4 separate regions of the Homo sapiens genome follow, and regions 2, 3 and 4 are each linked to region 1. The links are contacts of gene promoters, found by promoter capture Hi-C in human tissues and cell types (Jung and others, 2019). All regions are on one chromosome and are shown on one strand. The core of a region is centred on a gene start or on the middle of the fragment in contact, and the rest is flanking DNA. Distances in the headings are between cores, read along the strand shown. Region 1 holds the start of SLC7A14 (solute carrier family 7 member 14). Region 2 overlaps SLC7A14-AS1 (SLC7A14 antisense RNA 1). Region 3 overlaps SLC7A14 (solute carrier family 7 member 14). Region 4 overlaps SLC7A14 (solute carrier family 7 member 14).

Region 1 (2,700 bases), core at 96-2,595:
AGATGCTCATCGAAGGCAGTAACAAGCTTGAGGTAGGTGGACTAACCAAGACTGTCCTGGCAATGATCAAGCAACTTTCTGGGAAGAGCCCAGGGCAGACCCACAAAGTAGAGCTAGATTTGAACTGCTCCACCCTAGAGGAGTATCAGTCAGCCAGTATTCTCCCCAAACACAAGCCCAGTGAATTCATTTCCAAGGATAGGAGAGTTACATTTTGTTGCCTCCCATGTGTTTTGAGGGCTTGGGCCAAAGTGCAAGAATTTATGTAGATAACTTTCATCCAAATCAGTCTACTCAATGCTTGTTAAATAATTCATTCGGTGATGTGGCCAAGCATGCCTGGGTTGGTCCCATCTAGTCCCAATCCTTTTGGGACATAACCTGGCTCTAGGACACTCATCTTAAAGGAGCTAATACAAAACAGAAACCTTATCTCACTCTTGTCTCCGTTTAGACTGGTACTTGTCTAGCCTGACCTCACAGATGCCTCCTTCCATGTTTAAAAGATGCTTTCACTGTATTAGCACACATCACATCCTTCTTGCCTTGTGAAATTTATTTTAACAAAGGTGGGGGAAAAAGAACTCTCCTTTATTGAGCTCCAAATACCTGTCCAACTCTAGGCTAGGCAATTCTAAGAACATGATGATTTCTCAATCTCATGACAATACTGCAAGGTGGTTATTTCACAGACGAGAGAAGAAAAGCTAGAAAGTTAAATGCTCCAAGGTCATACAGATTGGAATCCTAATGGCTCTTCAAATCTCAAGTCCATGATCTTTGCACCCATAAGATGTTGTGAACCCAACGATAAACTTAAGCTTTGAAGACAGAGGTGGGTCTTGTCTTCTTTAGGAGGAGAGGAGAAATCAACCTCTCTCATTTTTTCTTTCCTGTAGGGCTCAGGGATGTGGAAGTTTAAGAGCAACGAAGGCTCCGCAGAGGATGAGGGAAGCTTCCAGAGGGCAGGAAGGAGGTCTGGACAGCCCAGTCTAGCAGGGGCAGAGCTGCGGCAGATGCCTTCCCAACGCACAGACATTGCAGAGTCCTGCTGGTCCCTGCTTTCCCAGGGCAAAGAACTGCCCCCATCCACGGCCCCCTCAACCTCCCTGCAGCCTGACATAAGACACTGGAGGTCACAACTGGAGGCTCAGAAGGCCAGCGAGGAGTTGTGAGCGGCAGACAGAGGGGAAGGCAGGGGGGCCAGGTGGGAGGTGGTCTGGTGCCAGGCTTGGGCCCAGTATGTAAGGGGTTGGGCAGGCCATGTGACTCCAAGGAGGCGGAGACAGGCGAGCTGGAGGGAGGACGAGCAGGCACGGGGAGGGGTTCGGGGGGTGGGGGCCCAATCTGAATAATTGAGGAGCTGTTCAGCAGCAGCGGCTGCCTCCTGCCTTCCTTTGCCGCCACCACCACTTCCCATCCCAGCTAGAGAGACAGCTCCGCGCAGTAAGTGCGGACTGCCAGCCACCAGCCTTGGCAGCCAGCTCGTCGCCTCCAGCCCCGACCCCGGTAAGTGAACGGCCCCCTTCGCTGCCGTTTGTCCCCCTCCGCGCCCCCCGCGCCCCAGCGGGACCCCTGCAACTGGGATGGCCGCCTCTCCCGGAATGACCCAGGGAGCCGGAGTCACCGGGAGCGGGGGACCAGGAATATGGCGCGGAGGCCCAGGGCGCCCTCCGAGAAGGGGTTCCCTGGAAGAACCGAGGAGGTGGGTCGGGCTCTTTCCTGCTCTGGCCCGGAATGAGGCCCCGACTGCCCGCGGTCTGGGGGCACCGGGCTCTGACTCGCGGGAGCTGCCGGGCGGGGCGGGGGCCAGCGCGGCTCCGGCGCCGCTAGAGCGGGAGGCAGAAGGGGAGCCGCGAGCGGAATGCGGGCAGCCTAGGTCTCGGCAGACGCCGGGCCCGTCCTGTCCCCCGCCTTGGCGCGCACCCCGCACGGGCAGCTCCGTTCTCCGCCTCGGACCGAGACCATGAAACGGAGACGCTTTTCCGGCCGCAGACTCCGGGGAGGTCGGGAGCAACGTCTGCCCTTTTACCTGGGAGCAAACTCCTCAAAGGGACTCCCGCCGAGCCCAGCACCCCGACCAGGATGGTGGCGCCCCGAGGGGCGTCTGTCCCCGGAGAGTGGTGACTCTCCCGGGAGCGGCGAAGAGGACGTGACGGGAGCGGTGTCCAGGGAAGCTCCCTGCCCAGAGCCGGCAGCCCCAGCAAGGGGAGCTCTCCTGCACTGCTTCAACCCTCAGTCTCCTCTCTTCTCCCATTCCAAAGCACATCAGCTCCCCTCTAATCCAAGAGGGCCAGGTTAGGGCTGCGTGGCCACGCGGGATGCAGCCCCCACCCTCCTTCTCTCTCCTGTGTCACCCTGCCCCCTCCCCAAATGAGTATTTTATATTGCGATTGAAGAGTGAGCAAAGCAAAGGCGAGAAGAGATGCAGGAAGGCTAGAGCAGCGGGGCTCGCTCCTGTTCTGGCACTCCTCATCCCCCCACCTGTGTGAAGCTCGTTTCCTTGAGATTTTGAGCGGAGACACTCAAAGGAACTGGCTCTGGCGAAGGGATCCCCGCCTGAGTGTCGGTGAACGTCACTGGCCCGAATTGCCCAAGGGCCGCAGGATGTCACCCTGCCTCCCCCTAGGTATAGGGTCTAGGAGAGCGCTGGGGGCAAGGTAGCTCTCCTCCTCCGACTGAGTGCAGGGAATGGCGCTG
Region 2 (2,700 bases), core at 86-2,585, 43 kb before region 1:
TTGATCAAAGAACCACTTAAGGTGACAGCCTACATGGTCACAGAGCATGAAAAACCTTACCCACATTTCCCCCTCTTTCCCTGTAGGAGGATCCCTAAGGGTTAGGTGATACCAGAACTAGGAGAGGTAGGCAGAGAGAAACTGAAAGACCTGAAAGAAAATAATTTCTCTGGATAGTTTCTCTGACCACTGAGGGATTATTTAATAGTAAAAACATACACTACAAATCATCAGAGAGCTTGACTTTCCACCAGTTGGGGATTTACTTCTGGTCATGATTGCACATCTCTGAGAAGTTACTGACTCAGTCCTGGGCTCCTTCTTTTCCCCAACTACACACTCTCCTTGAGTCTCATCCAGTCCTCGGGCTTTGAATATTGCCAGGCTGATAATATCGACCTGAGACTCCTATATCTCACTGCCACGCGGATAGTTCCATTCGGATGTCCCACAAGGCATCTCCAACTTAAATATCCAGGAGAGACCTCTTGCCTTCCTGCCTCTCACTTCTAAATGTGGAGCTTGCCTGGAAACCTGGGAGTCATGATTGGCAACTTGCTTTTCTCTCATTCTTCACAGTCCTTTCAGCCAGCAGCTCCAGCCCCCATACCCGTGATTAGTCTCCACTTCCACTGCCACCACTCAGATTCCAGCCAAGGTCTCTTCTCGTGCAGCAACACCAACGACCTTCTAATTATTCCTTCAACTTCCATTCTTGCCCTCCTCCAATCTGTCGTCCACGCAGTGGCCAAAAGTTCTTTTTAAAACACGATTTGAATTACACCATTCTCCTGCTTAAGACTTTTACCTGGCTTTGCATTGTACCTTGAATGAAATTCAGGCTCCCGCCGTGGTGTTCTGGGCCGTGCATGGTAAGACCCATGCCCTCCTCTCCACCTCGCCCAGGCCACGTTGCCTGCTGCCCCCTGCACCACAGTCCCAGTGGTCTTAGTCATCTCAAGCATACACCATGCCTCAGAGCCTTTGCTCCTGCTGGCCCCTATTTCCCCTGCTCTTTGTGTGGCTGACTCTTTCCTCTCCATCAAGTTTCAGTGTCAACGTGACTTACTCTTACAGAGAAGCCTCCTCTCATTCGCTATGTAAAGAATTTCCCAACTTCATTGCTATCTGTGATAGTGCCCTGAATCTTTCTTAATAATTACTAAAAGTTGTCATTATTTTATTTATTGCTTATTTGATTACTATGCTATACCTTGTCTAGATTGTAAACTGTAAGGGAGCAGAGGTCTCGGTTATTTTTTCCCTATGTATGCCACATCCAGCACATAATAAATGCCCAATAAATATTTGCTGATTAAGTTAATTAATTAAAGAAGGCCATTAGTCATTGACACTTTTAGCTAGTTGCTAGAAAATCAACCTGATTAACCTAATCTGATTGAGGCATGCCACTGTGCTCCTTCTACCTCTGTGCAAGCAGAGTTTCAGCTACAGGAATGGAGAAAAAGAATTTGCAGGCTCATTTCCGTAAAGGTATAGAAAAGTCTATTTCTTCTTCAGGAGGGCATCTGAACAGTTTCCTCTTTACAGCACCTCCCCTAGAAAGTTTTTATTTCACAGAGTATAGACAATGTTAGTTATAATTTTTTATAGGCAATGCTCTCCATTTTATAGTTAATTACCATGTAGCTCAATAACATGTGTATTATTAAATATATGTCAGATTAATTTTCTTGTAATTTTTTTTTTTTTTGAGATGTAATTTCGCTCTGTCACCCAGGCTGGAGTGCGGTGGCACGATCTCGGCTAACTGCAGTCTCTGCCTCCCAGGTTCAAGTAATTCTCCTGCCTCAGCCTCTCAAGTAGCTGGGACTACAGGTGCACGCCACTACACCTGGCTAATTTTTACATTTTTAGTAGAGATGGGGTTTCACCATGTTGGCCAGGTTGGTCTCGAACTCCTGACATCAGGTGATCCACCCACCTCAGCCTCCCAAAGTGCTGGGATTATAGGCATGAGCCACTGCGCCCAGCTTCTTGTAAGTTATGATTTTTAACTATAGCTCAGATAGTACAGTTTTTCTTTTTAAAAGTGAGAGGAAACAATCCAGTGACTACATGGACTATTACACAAGCACATAAAGTTATTAAGTAAACATGGTAACAAATAGCAATGTTTATGATTCAGTTTAAGAGACAAAAGCAGAATACATAATTGTTCTGATTTGTAATTAAAATGATCAAAGTATGTATAAAAGCAAGCAATAACTAATAGGGAACAAGAAAAAACACCTTGGTTTTCTAGTGTGGTAGATTTATGTCTGTTTCTTTTTTAGTTATTTCCATTTTCTTGGTACAATAGTAATTGCACAATAAATTTGGGGCTGAACTAGGCTGTAAATATGATTGCTGGTGTGCCTGCAGTTAGTATAGTGACTGGAAACATGTGGGGTCGGTCAGAGAAAGTCTCGCTGCAATATTCCTGCTCATTTGGACTGTCTAAAAGTTGTGCCCTCTTGTTTAATGCTTCCAGCTTGATCATCTGGTTAAATTTGTCACTCAAATACTTCTATCAAGAAGTAGCAGCGAGAATAAACCTCTTTATTTGTATTTGTACTTCCTGCTTGTTCTCCATGTGAGTGCATGTTAGGGTAGAGGAAGCAGGGAGGACCATACACTTAAAATAAATGCAACCCCAAAATTACAAAGAACAATATGTGTTTGTATGTCCCATATGGA
Region 3 (2,700 bases), core at 31-2,530, 35 kb after region 1:
TTTTGCATATAAACATAAAGTACTATGTATAAATTTTATATGTGCTATAAAGATTGATATGTAGATCAATGGAATAAAATTAAGAGTCCACAAATACATCCTTACATTGTTAGGCAACTGATCTCAATGCCCAACAATGTGAGGGTGTATTTCTGGACTCTTAATTTTGTTTTAAGTTTTATTAAACTTATTAATGTAAGAGTGTATCTCTAGACTCTTATTTTTCCTATTGAATTGTCTTGACACTAAGACACCAATTGTCTTGACACCAACACAATTCAGTAGGGAAAAGATCAGTATTTTCAACAAATGGTGCTGAGTCCACTAGATACACACATGATAAAGAATGAAGGTGGACCCTTACCTCAGTTGTTATTCAAAAATTAACTCAGAATGGATTAAAGACCAAAACATAAGAGCTAAAACAATAAAATTCTTGGAAGAAAATATAGTCATAAGTCTTTGTAATTTTGGATTAGGCAATACGTTTTTTAGATATGATATCAAAAGCATAAACAATAAAAGGAAAAATAGATAAATTAGACTACTTCAAATCCAAAAAACTTTTGCACTTCAAATGAAACCTTTAAGAAAGTGAAAAGAATGAAATCTTTAAGAAAGTGAAAAGGAAAAGCACAGAATGGTTTATATTGCAACACATATATCTGAGAAGGATTTAGAATCCAGAATATATAAAGAATCTTATGACTCAACAATAAAAAGAGAAATAACCCATTTTTAATGGGCAAATGATTTGAATAGATATTTCTTCAAAGGTATGTACAAATGGCCGATAAAGATGCTCAAGATCTTTAGTCATTAGGGAAATAAAAGTAAAACCACAATGAGATACAACTTCACACCCTTTAGGATGGTTGTAATTTTAAAAAGATTAACAATAACACATATTGAGGAAGATGTAGAGAAACTGAAATCATCCATTGCTGGTGGGAATGCAAAGTGGTGCTGCTGTCTTGGAACACAGTCCAGCAGTTCCTGAAAATGTTAAACATTGAGATGCCATATGACACAGCACTTCCACTCCCAGTATGTATCCAAGAGACCTGAAAACGAATGTCCACACAAAAATCTGTACACGAATGCTCACAGCAACATTATTCATAATATCCAAAAAGTGGAAACAATCCAAATGGTATCAACTGAATACTATGAATGAGTGAACAAAATATGGTATAGCCATATAATGGGATATTATTCAGCCATAAAACAGAAATGAAGTTCTGATATGTGATACAACATGGATGAACTTTGACAACGTTATGATAAGTGAAAGAAGCCAGATACAAAAGGCCACATATAATATTACTGAATTTATGTGAAATGTCCAACATAGGCAAATCCATAAAGAAAGAAAGTAGATTAGTGGTTACCAGGAGTTGGGGGAGGAGCAATGGAGAGTAACTGCTCATGGGTATGGGATTTTTGAGGGGGTAATTACAATGTTCTAAAATTAAATCAGTGTGATAGTTTCACAATTCTGTGAATATACTGTACTAAAAAAACACTGAAATATATACTTTAAAAGGATGAATTTTATAGTATGTGGATTACACTTCGCTTTTAAAAAATATATGTGCTGAATTTTTCAGAAAGGCAACCAATATACAAATCAAGGAAAGATGGTTGGGCGCGGTGTCTCATGCCTGTAATCCCAGCACTTTGGGAGGCCTAGGCAGGCAGATCACCTGAGGTCAGGAGTTCGAGACCAGCCTGGCCAACATGGTGAAACCCCGTCTCTACTAAAAATATAAAAATTATTCAGGCATGGTGGCAGGAACCTGTAATCCCAGCTACTCAGGAGGCTGAGGCAGGAGAATTGCTTGAACCTGGGAGGCGGAGGTTGCAGTGAGCCGAGATCACACCATTGCACTCCAGCCTGGGCGACAAAAGCGAAACTCTGTCACCAAAAAAAAAAAAAAAAAAAAAAAAATTCAAGGAAAGATGGCATTAGGTTTAGTTTGAAAGATTACAAGAGTCGTTTACCATTTCAAAAAACCACTTCACCACAAACCCTGTGCAGTAGTATTTGAATCACCAACACCCACACTTTACGGTTTATGGCTATTGAGATCTCAGTGACTCTATGCATAGATGCAAGTTTAAGTATTTCATTATATCATTCTTGTGCATTTACAGCTTAAAGAGTATTTTTTACTACAAATTAATTGCCTTCTAGTTCTTCTTCATATTATAGTAAGTGCACTATATTGATTTTTCTTGAATAATGTTTGTGGGTTGGTTATATTATCTATGAACTTCATTTCAGCTTAGAAATGGGCAGAATGCCCCATCACATTTATAATGCAACGTGTGCTGTTAAAAAGGTGGCATTAAGGCTAATAGAATTGAGGACCACTGACTTATTTTCAGGTCAACCCTTCATTACACACACATGTCCAATCACAACCATCATTTAATTATAGCTCAGGGTCTTCCTCTTTTCCCCTCTGCACATAAAATTACAAACAGATAAAACCACAGCAGCCACAGCTTTTGGCATTTCCCTAGACTAAAGCTTTCACCCATCAGACCTCTGCCCCTGGAATTATAAAGATTTACTTGTAAAGAGTTTAAATTGCTTTCCATCCTCACTGTCATTCAGTTTCCCCATGCCTCCATGGTTTGAGAGGTGATTTTTAGCTGATTGATCTAGATATGTTTTCTCCCCTGCTTATGTTA
Region 4 (2,700 bases), core at 31-2,530, 63 kb after region 1:
TGCTCATGAGCAGTATATAATCTAGACTTTTCCACTGCTCACATGGAGAGCCTGAAATTGGTCCAGACTGTGTTATGCTGGAGCCAGCTCACACCAGCTGCCAAGAGTACTAATGGTGCATACCTCTTTCCAGCTTTACATTCAATGATGTCATGCTGTTAACTTGGCATCAGCTATGGAGGGCCTATGTGTTTGTTGTTGTTACCATTGTTCAGAGAATTAGTTGTTAAACCTTTACCAGCACATCACTAGGCCACCTCCACTAAAGACCCTGGTCCTGCCCAGTAATTGAGGCCTTCACCACAGCACCAAGCACAAGAAGAAAAAACCCTACCTCTCCCCAAAACAGGATTCCTCCTCTCCACATAACACTTCTCTATACTGTATGACTGACTTATCTAGCCACTGAGGCCATTTGGAATCCTCCCAGAGCCCCTAGTCAGGCCAGGACCAAAATATCATAACTTATGCCAATGTTAGCATATTTATAGCAGGTTTCTTCAAGCAGGCCTCTCACTCTTATGATTGTTGGTCACTAAACTAAAGGAAGTGCTGCTCCAGTGTCTTTTTTCCACTTTCACATCATCATCCCCATATTGTTTCACCTTTGGCAAAACTTCCCACTGCTTCTCCATACAACAATAATCAAACTCTCCTATATCTTCATCCTTTTAAATACACGGTCCTTTTCTCCTTCTGGTCTTAATTAAAACCTGGCTCACCTGAGGGTGAGTCCAGTCTCCACAACTGCACATTTATCTCCAGCAATAATTGCTGCTTAGTTGCAAGAATGAAGTAAAGAGAAAGTTGAGATTAACTTAGATTTAACTTTTTCCAAGCAGAGGGAGAAAAAAGTAATGGGGTTAAGAGTGTTTTCAAAGGAAGACTAAACTGTGCTGAATCACATAATCTAGGCTGAATAAGAAGGGAAGTGAAACACAAGAGTGACGATGACTCATGAAAAGTGGTGGAATCGGTAGAAATTGGAATTGTCAATCAGGTCAAGATATCATTGCAATAAAAATACTGGGAAAGTTAGACAGAAAGCTAGGAAGTGATGGAAATGATAAAGAGTGGGATGTTTGAAATAAAGATTTCAGAAGTAGTATAGCAATCAATAACATTCAGTTTAGACTTGAAACCTGGTTCAGCCACTGACTAGCTGTGAGACCTTGAGTAAGTTCCATAATTTCTCTGAACATCGGTTTCTCCACTTTAAAAATAATAATACCTACTTCAAAGGATTGTTGTCAAGACTAAAGGAGATGCATATTAATTGCCTGGTACATTGCCGAGCACATAGCACTAAATAAGTGGTTTTTATTATTTTGTGCCAAACCCTAAATTAGGTGCTTTCCAGAGAGTGTGGCCCTTAAAACTCTTTATCTCTTTAAAGTAGGTTTTATTATCTCCAATTTCACATACGTGGAAAATGTGTAAACCGAAGTTTAAATGACAGAACCCACATTCAAATCTGTTGATAGATAGGTTGAGAGATAATGTCAACAACTCTCAACCCTGGCTATGGGTTTAAATCACTTGGGAATTTTTTTTCTGTAATAATGAAAAATGGATGTTGGAGTTCAGTTTTATTGAGTTATAATTACATATCATAAAATGCATCCTTTTTTATATACACTTCTATGAGCTTTAGTAAACACATATAATCGTGTAAGCTTCACCACAATCAAGATGCAGAAGAGCTCCATCACCTCCAAAATAATTTCTCCAGGCTGCCTCTTTGTAGTTAATCCCTCCTCCCACTCCCAGCCCCTGGCAACCACTAATTTGTTTTCAGTCCCTATCGGTTTGCCCTTTCCAGAACATTATGTAAATAGAATCATTCAGTATATAACCTTTTAAGTTTGCTTTCTTTTGCTTAGCAAGATGCATTTGAAATTCATTCATGTTGTTGTGTGTATCAGAAGGTTGTTCCATTTTCTTGCTGAGTAGTATCCCATTGTATGGCTCTACTACCATTTGTTTATCCTTTTACCAGTTGGAGGACAACTGGGTTGTTTCCAGTCTTTGGCCGATGTAAATAAACTCACTGCAAGTATTTACATGTAGGTTTTTATATAAACACAAGTTGTGGTTTCTCAAGTAAGTACTTAGGAGTGAAGTTGTTAGTTTATATGGTAAGTGAATGCTCAACTTTATAATAAATAGCCAAGCTTTTTTCCAAAGTAGCTGTATTATATTTGACTTGCACAGGAATATGTGAAAGTTCCAGTTCTTTGCCAGCACTCAGAATTGTTAGGTGTGGTTTTTCATGGTTGTTTTGTTTTTTGTTTGTTTGTTTGTTTTGCCATTTTAAAAGGTATATAGCAATGTTTCAATGTGGTTTTAATTTGCATTATGCTAATTACTAATGATGTTGGACATCTTTCTATGAGTTTATTTGTCATCCATGTGCTCTCCTTGGTAAAGTGTCTATTTAAATCTTTTGCCCACCCCCCACCTTTTTCTTTTTTTTTTGAGATGGAGTCTTGCTCTGTCTCCCAGGCTGGTGTGCAATGGCACGATCTCGGCTCACCACAACCTCCACCTCCCAGGTTCAAGCGACTCTTCTGCCTCAGCCTCCCGAGTAGCTGGGACTACAGGTGCATGACATCACACATGGCTAATTTTTGTATTTGTAGTTGAGACAGGGTTTTACCACATTGGCCAGGCTGGTCTCGAACTCCTGACCTCGTGATC

What was found. Contacts are between HindIII fragments. The study calls those that stand out against the background at their distance.
Region 2: a contact is called between a fragment that was not itself captured here and the fragment with the promoter of SLC7A14 in region 1, in 1 of the 25 tissues and cell types used here (mesenchymal stem cells).
Region 3: a fragment that was not itself captured here is called in contact with the fragment with the promoter of SLC7A14 in region 1 in 6 of the 25 tissues and cell types used here (IMR-90 fibroblasts, hippocampus, mesenchymal stem cells and 3 more).
Region 4: a contact is called between a fragment that was not itself captured here and the fragment with the promoter of SLC7A14 in region 1, in 3 of the 25 tissues and cell types used here (IMR-90 fibroblasts, hippocampus and mesenchymal stem cells).

Annotation. Positions count from the first base shown.
Region 1 is chr3:170,584,720-170,587,419 of GRCh38, reverse strand. It overlaps SLC7A14 (solute carrier family 7 member 14), which reads left to right and starts at 1,345. Exons shown (of 8, transcript NM_020949.3): 1 at 1,345-1,509. The region is part of intron 2 of SLC7A14-AS1 (SLC7A14 antisense RNA 1); the gene reads right to left. RefSeq lists a silencer at 2,566-2,700. The HindIII fragment of the contact is 10,108 bases long and covers 425-2,700 here.
Region 2 is chr3:170,627,650-170,630,349 of GRCh38, reverse strand. The region is part of intron 2 of SLC7A14-AS1 (SLC7A14 antisense RNA 1); the gene reads right to left. Among named protein-coding and RNA genes, the nearest start is that of SLC7A14, 43 kb to the right of the region's middle. The HindIII fragment of the contact is 6,253 bases long and covers 1-2,700 here.
Region 3 is chr3:170,549,764-170,552,463 of GRCh38, reverse strand. The region is part of intron 1 of SLC7A14 (solute carrier family 7 member 14); the gene reads left to right. All of the region lies in intron 2 of SLC7A14-AS1 (SLC7A14 antisense RNA 1), which reads right to left. Among named protein-coding and RNA genes, the nearest start is that of SLC7A14, 35 kb to the left of the region's middle. The HindIII fragment of the contact is 4,004 bases long and covers 1-2,700 here.
Region 4 is chr3:170,521,699-170,524,398 of GRCh38, reverse strand. The region is part of intron 2 of SLC7A14 (solute carrier family 7 member 14); the gene reads left to right. All of the region lies in intron 2 of SLC7A14-AS1 (SLC7A14 antisense RNA 1), which reads right to left. Among named protein-coding and RNA genes, the nearest start is that of SLC7A14-AS1, 56 kb to the right of the region's middle. The HindIII fragment of the contact is 5,563 bases long and covers 1-2,700 here.